2 separate regions of the Homo sapiens genome follow, and region 2 is linked to region 1. Evidence: promoter capture Hi-C in human tissues and cell types (Jung and others, 2019). All regions are on one chromosome and are shown on one strand. The core of a region is centred on a gene start or on the middle of the fragment in contact, and the rest is flanking DNA. Distances in the headings are between cores, read along the strand shown. Region 1 holds the start of H6PD (hexose-6-phosphate dehydrogenase/glucose 1-dehydrogenase). Region 2 has its middle 36 kb from the start of LINC02606.

Region 1 (3,792 bases), core at 1,197-3,696:
GAAACATCTCAGGGTGGTGTGGGAGTGGACATAGGGTTGGGAGGGCATTGTGACCCCCTAGGCTAATTCCCCCCTCAGACCCCACCCCAACGTTACCTAATCAGGTGGACGTTTTCTTAGTAAGCAGGTTACAACTGACTTGGTTTGGGGCTTTGTTTTTTTTTCTTTTTTTTTTTTTTTGAGACCGAGTTTCACTCTTGTTGCCCAGGCTGGAATGCAGTGGCGCGATCTCAGCTCCCCGCAACCTCCACCTCCCAGGTTCAAGCTATTCTCCTGCCTCAGCCTCCCGAGTAGCTGGGATTACAGGCATGCGCCACCACACCCAGCTAATTTTGTAGTTTTAGTAGAGACATGGTTTCACCATATTGGTCAGGCTGGTCTCGAACTCCCGACCTCAGGTGATCCACCCGCCTCGGCCTCTCAAAGTGCTGGGATTACAGGCGTGAGCCACCGTGCCTGGCTTTTTTTTTTTTTTTTTTTGACACAGTTTCACCCTGTTGCCCTGGCTGGAGTGCAATGGCGCGATCTTGGCTCACTGCAACCTCTGCATCCTGGATTCAAGCGATTCTCGTGCCTCAGCCATCTGAGTAGCTAGGACTACAGGCACGCCACCACGCTTGGCTTTTTTTTTTTTTTTTGTATTATTAGTAGAGATGGGATTTCATCATGTTGGCCAGGCTGGTCTCGAACTACTGACCTCAGGGGATCCACCTGCCTCGGCCTCCCAAAGTGCTGTGATTACAGGCATGAGCCACTACGCCTGACCTGGGGCTATTTATAAGAAGCCCTCAAGGTAGCAGATCACCCTCTGATGGCCACATGGAGATCTGGGAAACGAACCCCCGGTCATGCCTCTGGACACCTGCCCACTTCTATCTGTGCCTTCCTGGGCCCTGGTTTTCAGAGCTATGTGGGTGCCTGACACACTCAGGGCCACAGAACATGGGAAGGGCTCTAGGCCAAGAGTCCCGGCATCATTCGAGTCTGCTCTGGCCCGCTCCTGCCCTAAGCCCTCCTGCTCACTTCCAGCTGTGGAGGTAGCCCAGAGAGTGCCTGGCTCCCTGGCTCCCCCCTCTGCCAGGCCCACTCAGTGTGACCTAAATCCTTGCCGAGGCTTGGCAGCCCTCTGCGGGCGCCCGGATGGCCTCTGGCCTTGGTGACGGTGAGGCCCAGCTCCCCTCAGTTCCCAGCCTTCCCGGAACCCCTTGCCTAACATCCTGTGTGGTAATCATGCCTGTTGGCCCCATTCAGTCCTGCCGGCCACTGCCAAGTTGCCACTGCTAGTTCCAGACGCTCCCACCTCTAATGGAACCATCGGGAAATAAAAAGCTGCAGCACAGTTTCTCTCTCAGGTCAGAATCTCCTCCCAGCACTTTGGGAGGCCAACGTGGGAGAATCACTTGGGCCCAGGAGTTCGAGACCAGCCTGGGCAACAAAGTGAGACCCCGTCTCTACAAAAAGTTGAAAAATTAGTCAGGAGTGGTGGCGAACATCTGTGATCCCAGTTACTTGGGAGGCTGAGGCGGGAGGATCACTTGAGCCTGGGAGGCGGAGGCTGCAGTGAGCTGTGATAGCGCCACTGCACTCCAGCATGGGTGACAGAGCGAGACCCTGTCTCAAAAAAAAAAAAAAAAAAAAAAAAGAAAAAAAGAAAAGAAAAGAAAGAAAAAAGAAAAAGTGGGGAGCAGGTTGGGGAGCATGGTGAGGGCCACCTACTGCCTGATAATGGTGGGGGACAGGAAGGGGACTGAGTGCTCTGAGAGGCAGCTGATCCCGTTTTCTCACTTAAATACCTCTCACCCTACAGAGAAGCCCTGATTCCATTTGCTGTCTTTCTTAGCAATGTCTTAGCAAAAGTCTTCTATTTGCCACACGGGTCCAAGCTTCCGCTTACTAAGCACCCAAGTGCCAGACAACCCCGGAGGCAGGTACTCCCATTGTCCCCACTGTACAGATGAAGAAACTGAACTCAGGGTCACACAAGTGATAAGGGGTGGCAGAGATCTGAAGCTGTGCGCGGAGGCGTGGCCAGCGTGTGCGCTCCGACTTCTAAATCCCTACTCTGGATATTGAAGACGGGAAAGACCGAGCCGCTCATTCTACAGATGGGGAAAAGCGAGGCCTGAGGAGTCCCAGAGCGGGTGCCAGATCGTAGGGAGCAGCCAGCACCCCGGGTCCCCTCCACGACACAACCACGTCCCTCGGCCACTTCTGGGTCCCGCGCGCGTCTCGGACGCGGCAGGACAGCTCTAGGACGCACGGCCACCAGGGGGCCGAAGGGAAGGGCGGGGGCGGAGGCTCGGAGCTGACCCACCGCCTCGCCCCGGAAGCTCCGAGGCCCCGCCCCGGCGGCCGCCAGCGGAGGGCGTGGCCTCGCCGGCGCCCCCGCCCCGCCCCCGCCCCCGCCGCGCGCGCCCCCGCCGCGCGCGCCCCCGGCCCGGGCCCCAGTCTTGCTGAGCGCAAGGCGGTGGAGGCCTGAGGCCTGAGGCCTGGGGCGGGGTGGCGGCCGGGCTGGCCTTGGCCTCGCGCCTTCCCCTGCGGCCGCCGCGGGCTCCGCGGGCGGTATCGGAGTGTCGTGCGGCGCGTGGCCGCGTGACACGCGCACTTGTCGGAGTGACGGGCCCTGCGGAAGAGGAGGTGCGGCCCAGGGCGCAGGGGAGCCCTCGGGAGCGGGCCCGGCCCTCAGCGCCGCCCCGGCCGTGTCCCGGAGGAGCGGCCTGCGCCGCCGCGCGAGAGGAAGTAAGCGCCCCCCGCCGGCCCCGCCGCCGCCCCGGCCCCGGCGCCTCCAACCCGCGCTGCCGCCGGGCCCGAGGCCGCGCCGAGCCCCGGAGCCTGCGCTGCCAGCCCCACGGAGCCTGGGGCTGGCGGCTTTGGAACTGCTCAGGAGGCGGCCAGGCTCCCTCCAGGGTCGCCCCGAGCGGCCGAGCTGTCCTTTCCCTGGGCTTCCCGGAACTGAGTTCCAGGAGAGGGGGAACTCCGAGATTTCCCCCGGGACCTGCTTAATCTTTGGCATTGATTGGCCCTCGGGTTTCACATAGCGTTTCCCGTACCCGGATCTAGTGAACGGTTTTCCAGGGGCAAACCTCTCTGGATCTCTGAAAATCAGCTCACCCAACCTTGAATGCTTAGCCAGAAGTGAGAACTTCTGGAAAGAAGTGTCCTTGCCCACTCCCCCTGCACCCACAACAGGCCCATGGCTCATGAAAGGCAGCAGATGAGGGAAAACTGGTGTCAAATGGGCATATTTTTTATTTTATCTTTTTACTTTTTTATATAAAAGTAAAAAATCTTTTACTTATAAAAGATGGGGTCTTGCTTGGTTGCCCAGGCTGGAGTACAGTGGCACAAACACGGTTCCCTGCAGCCTCCACCTCTTGGGCTCAGGCCATCGTCCTGCCTCAGCCTCCGGGGTAGCTGGGACCACAGGCGCACACCACCACGCCTGGCTAATTTTTAAACCTTTTGTAGAGACAGTGGTCTCACTATGTTGCCCTGGCTGGTCTCGAACTCCTGGGCTCAAGCGATCCTCCTGCTTAAGCCTTACGAAGTGTTGGGATTACAGGTGTGAAGCACCACGCCCAGACAGCGTATTTTAAATTATGCATCATATCCCTTTAATTTTTCATCATTATGATTGGAAGATCATGAAAAGCTGTCTGAGTTTTTCCTTGGCATTTTTCTGTGGTTGATGGTTAGTTGTTGCCCAAGCTGGAGTGCAATGGCGCGATCTCGGCCCACTGCAACCTTCTCCTCCTGGTTCAAGCGATTCTTCCACCTCAGCCTCCTGAGTGG
Region 2 (3,831 bases), core at 496-2,995, 230 kb after region 1:
TCTCACTATGTTGCCCAGGCTGGTCTTGAACTCCTGAGCTCAAGCAATCCCTCAGCCTCCCAAAGTGCTGGGATTTCAGGTGTGAGTCACCATGCCCAATCTGTCCATTTTTTAAATGAGCTGTTTTCTTACTAACTTTTGAGAGTTATTTATACATTTTGAATACAAATCCTTTATTAGATATATGACTTACAAATATTTTCTCGTCACTCTCTTCATACTGTCTTAAAAAAAACACAAAGTAGCTGGGCGCTGTGGCTCACACCTGTAATCCCAGCACTTTGGGAGGCTGAGGCAGGCAAACCACAAGGTCAGGAGTTCGAGACCAGCCTGACCAATATGGTGAAACCTCATCTCTACTAAAAATACAAAAATTAGCCAGACGTGGTGGCACGTGCCTGTAATCCCAGCTACTGAGGAGGCTGAGGCAAGAGAATCGCTTGAACTTGGGAAGCGGAGGTTACAGTGAGTTGAAATCGCACCACTGCACTCTAGCCTGGGTGACAGAGCAAGACTCTGTCTCAAAAAAAAAAAAAAAAAAAAGTTTTAACTTTTCATTAAGTAGAATTCTATTTGTTCTTTAATGGATCATACTTTTGCTACTGTATCTAAGGAACCTTTGCCTAACTCAAGGTTACAAAGTTTTTTCCTATGTTTTCTTCTAGAAGTTTTGTGCTTTTAAGTCTTACATTTAGTTACATTTAGGTCTACTTTGTTTTTTTTTTTTTGAGACGGAGTCTCGTTCTGTCGCCCAGGCTGGAGAGCAGTGGCTTGATCTCCGCTCACTGCAAGCTCCGCCTCCCAGGTTCACACCATTCTCCTGTCTCAGCCTCCCGAGTAGCTGGGACTACAGGCGCCCGCCACAACTCCTGGCTAATTTTTTGTATTTTTAGTAGAGACGGGGTTTCACCCTGTTAGCCAGGATGGTCTCGATCTCCTGACCTCGTGATCCGCCCACCTCAGCCTCCCAAAGTGCTGGGATTACAAGCGTGAGCCACCGCGCCCAGCCCATTTAGGTCTACTTTGAATTAATATTTTTATATGGTACAGGGTGTGAATCGAGACTCATTTTTTCACATATGGATATTCAGTTGTTCTAACACATTTGTTGAAATGACCATACTTTTCCCACTGAATTGCCTTTGTTTTTTGTTTGTTTGTTTGTTTTTGAGACAGAGTTTTGCTCTGTCGCCCAGGCTGGAGTGCAGTGGTGCAATCTCGGCTCTACAGCCTCTGCCTCCTGGGTTTGAGTGATTCTCCCGCCTCAGCCACCCGAGTAGCTGGGATTACAGGCACCCAAGTAGCTGGGATTACAGGCACGCCTGGCTAATTTTTGTATTTTTAGTAGAGACGGGGTTTCTCCATGTTGGCCAGGCTGGTCTCGAATTCCTGACCTCAAGTCACCTGCCCACCTTAGCCTCCCAAAGTGCTGGAATTACAGGCGTGAGCCACTGCGCCCGGCCACACTGAATTGCCTTTGAACCTTTGTTGAAAATCTGTTGTACTTTTTAATGTGGGTCTATTTCCGGGTTCTCTATTCTGTTCCATTTATCTATTTGTCTTTACATCAGTACCATACTGCCTTGATTATCATAGCTATATAATAAGACCTGAAATCAGATAGTGTAAGCCCTCCTACTTTGTTGTTTACCGAAGTTGTTTTGGCAATTCTATGTCCTGTGCATTTCCATTCGAATTTTGGAATCAATTTTGTCCATCTCTTTTTTTTTTTTTTTTTTTTTGAGACAGAGTCTGGCTTTGTTGCCTAGGCTGGAGTGCAATGGCATGATCTCAGCTCACTGCAACCTCTGCCTCCAAGGTTCAAGCTATTCTCCTGCTTCAGCCTCCCAAGTAGCTGGGATTACAGGTGTGCACCACCATGCCTGGCTAATTTTTGTATTTTTAGTAGAGATGGGATTTCACCATACTGACCAGGCTGGTCTCAAACTCCTGACCTCAGGTGATCCGCCTGCCTCAGCCTCCCAAAGTCCTGGGACTACAGGAGTGAGCCACTGCGCCTGACTCAATTTTGTTCATTTCTAAAAAAAAAAAAAAAAGAAAAAAAATCTTGCTGGAATTGGGGTTACATATCTGTAGATCAACTTGGAGTGAAATTTTGGAGAGAATTAACATCCGAACGGTATATTTTTGTTTTTTATGATTTTTTGGGGTTTTTTTTTTGTTTTTTTTGAGACGGAGTCTCACTCTGTCACCCAGGCTGGAGTACAATGGCACAATCTTGGCTCACTGCAACCTCCACCTCCCGGGTTCAAGCGATTCTCTTGCCTCAGCCTCCTGAGTGGCTGGGATTACAGGCATGCGCCACCACGCCCGGCTAATTTTTTGTATTTTTAGTAGAGACAGGGTTTCGCCATGTTGGTCAGGCTGGTCTCAAACTCCTGACCTCAGGTAATCCACCAGCCTCGGCCTCCCAAAATGCTGAGATTACAGGCATGAGCCACGGTGTATTTTTAAATCAAGATATAATTTATATACCATAAAATTCACCGCTTTAAAATGTACAATTTAGGCTGGGCATGGTGGCTCATGCCTTCCAAAGTGCTGGGATCACAGGAGTGAGCCACCACAGCCAGCCCGACATCAGCTTTTAAAACACGTGTATTTGTTCGTTCTTCCTCAAAGTACACCACATATTGCCTGGGAGTGTGGCTGGCTGGAGTTTGGATAGTCGCTGAACTCTAGAACTGACGGGAAACTTAGAAAAGGTACGGTGCAGAGGTTGCAAACCGGCTGCCCAGAGGCCAACTTGGCAATCAGATGTGTTTGTGTGGCCTATACAGGATGTCCTGAAGGTGTGAGCCAACGTTTCAGAATTTGGTAGCTTTCACAAACATTTTTTTAAAAATCAGCCATCTGGCAGCCCAGGCCCGCACCCCTCCTGGCCGATGGTGGGATGTGCAGGGTGGAGGAGCCTCTTCTGCAGGTCCCCTTGGTGCTGCCACCCACACAGAGCCCCAATGCCCTAATATCTGCCCTCTCCCCTGCCTGCACCACTCCCCAAAATATGCCTTTTAGAGATAAACCCTGGGGAGGTTCCCTAATTTTCATGGGGCAAATTGTGCACGCTGACCATGAAACCTGTGCTTCTTCCCACTCTGTGGACGTCCCCTCCCTCTACAGTGACCAACTCAGTCTGGTTTGCTTAGTCTCTGGGTTTCCGTACAGAAAGTCCTGTAGCCCTGGAACCCTCCCAGTCCCAGGCAAACCGGGATGGTTGGCCACACTACCGCTCACTTCCTATCCTTCTCCCCCACAAAAAAATTAAATAAGATAAAACAAAATGTAATTTAGGCAGGGTGTGGTGGCTCACACCTGTAATCCCCGCACTTTGGGAGGCCGAGGTAAGCAGATCACTTGAAGCCAGGAGTTCAAGACCAGCCTGACCACATGGCGAAACCCCCTTCCTACTAAAACTTCAAAAGTTAGCCAGGAGTGGTGGCGCACCCCTGTAATCCCAGCTACTCAGGAGGCACAAGAATCACTTGAATGCAGGAGGCACAGTCTGTAGTGAGCCGAGATTACATCGCTGTACTCCAGCCTGGACAACAGAGCAAGACTCTGTCTAAAACAAAAAAAAAAGCAATTTAATTAAAAAGCAGAGTTTTGTTGAACTAAGATTTCATCTCCTCTCTGGCCTGCTTGCTGGGCTAGACATGGAAGCTGCCAGCGCCATCATCTCTGATTTTTTCGTGGTGGAAGAGGTGAGTTGTGCCGTCCTTCACCACAGTGACCTCCTGGGGCCCAGCGCCTGACTCTGTGTCTGTGATGGAGGACACCTCACATAGGATGGGCCCCAAGTCCCAGCCGACA

What was found. The method cuts DNA at HindIII sites, captures the fragments that hold promoters and counts their contacts. A contact is called where the count stands out against the background at its distance.
Region 2: a fragment that was not itself captured here is called in contact with the fragment with the promoter of H6PD in region 1 in 1 of the 25 tissues and cell types used here (liver).

What each region holds. Positions count from the first base shown.
Region 1 is chr1:9,232,328-9,236,119 of GRCh38, forward strand. It overlaps H6PD (hexose-6-phosphate dehydrogenase/glucose 1-dehydrogenase), which reads left to right and starts at 2,447. Exons shown (of 5, transcript NM_004285.4): 1 at 2,447-2,739. RefSeq lists a silencer at 2,300-2,859. The HindIII fragment of the contact is 6,904 bases long and covers 825-3,792 here.
Region 2 is chr1:9,463,041-9,466,871 of GRCh38, forward strand. No RefSeq gene overlaps it. Among named protein-coding and RNA genes, the nearest start is that of LINC02606, 36 kb to the left of the region's middle. The HindIII fragment of the contact is 9,148 bases long and covers 1-3,831 here.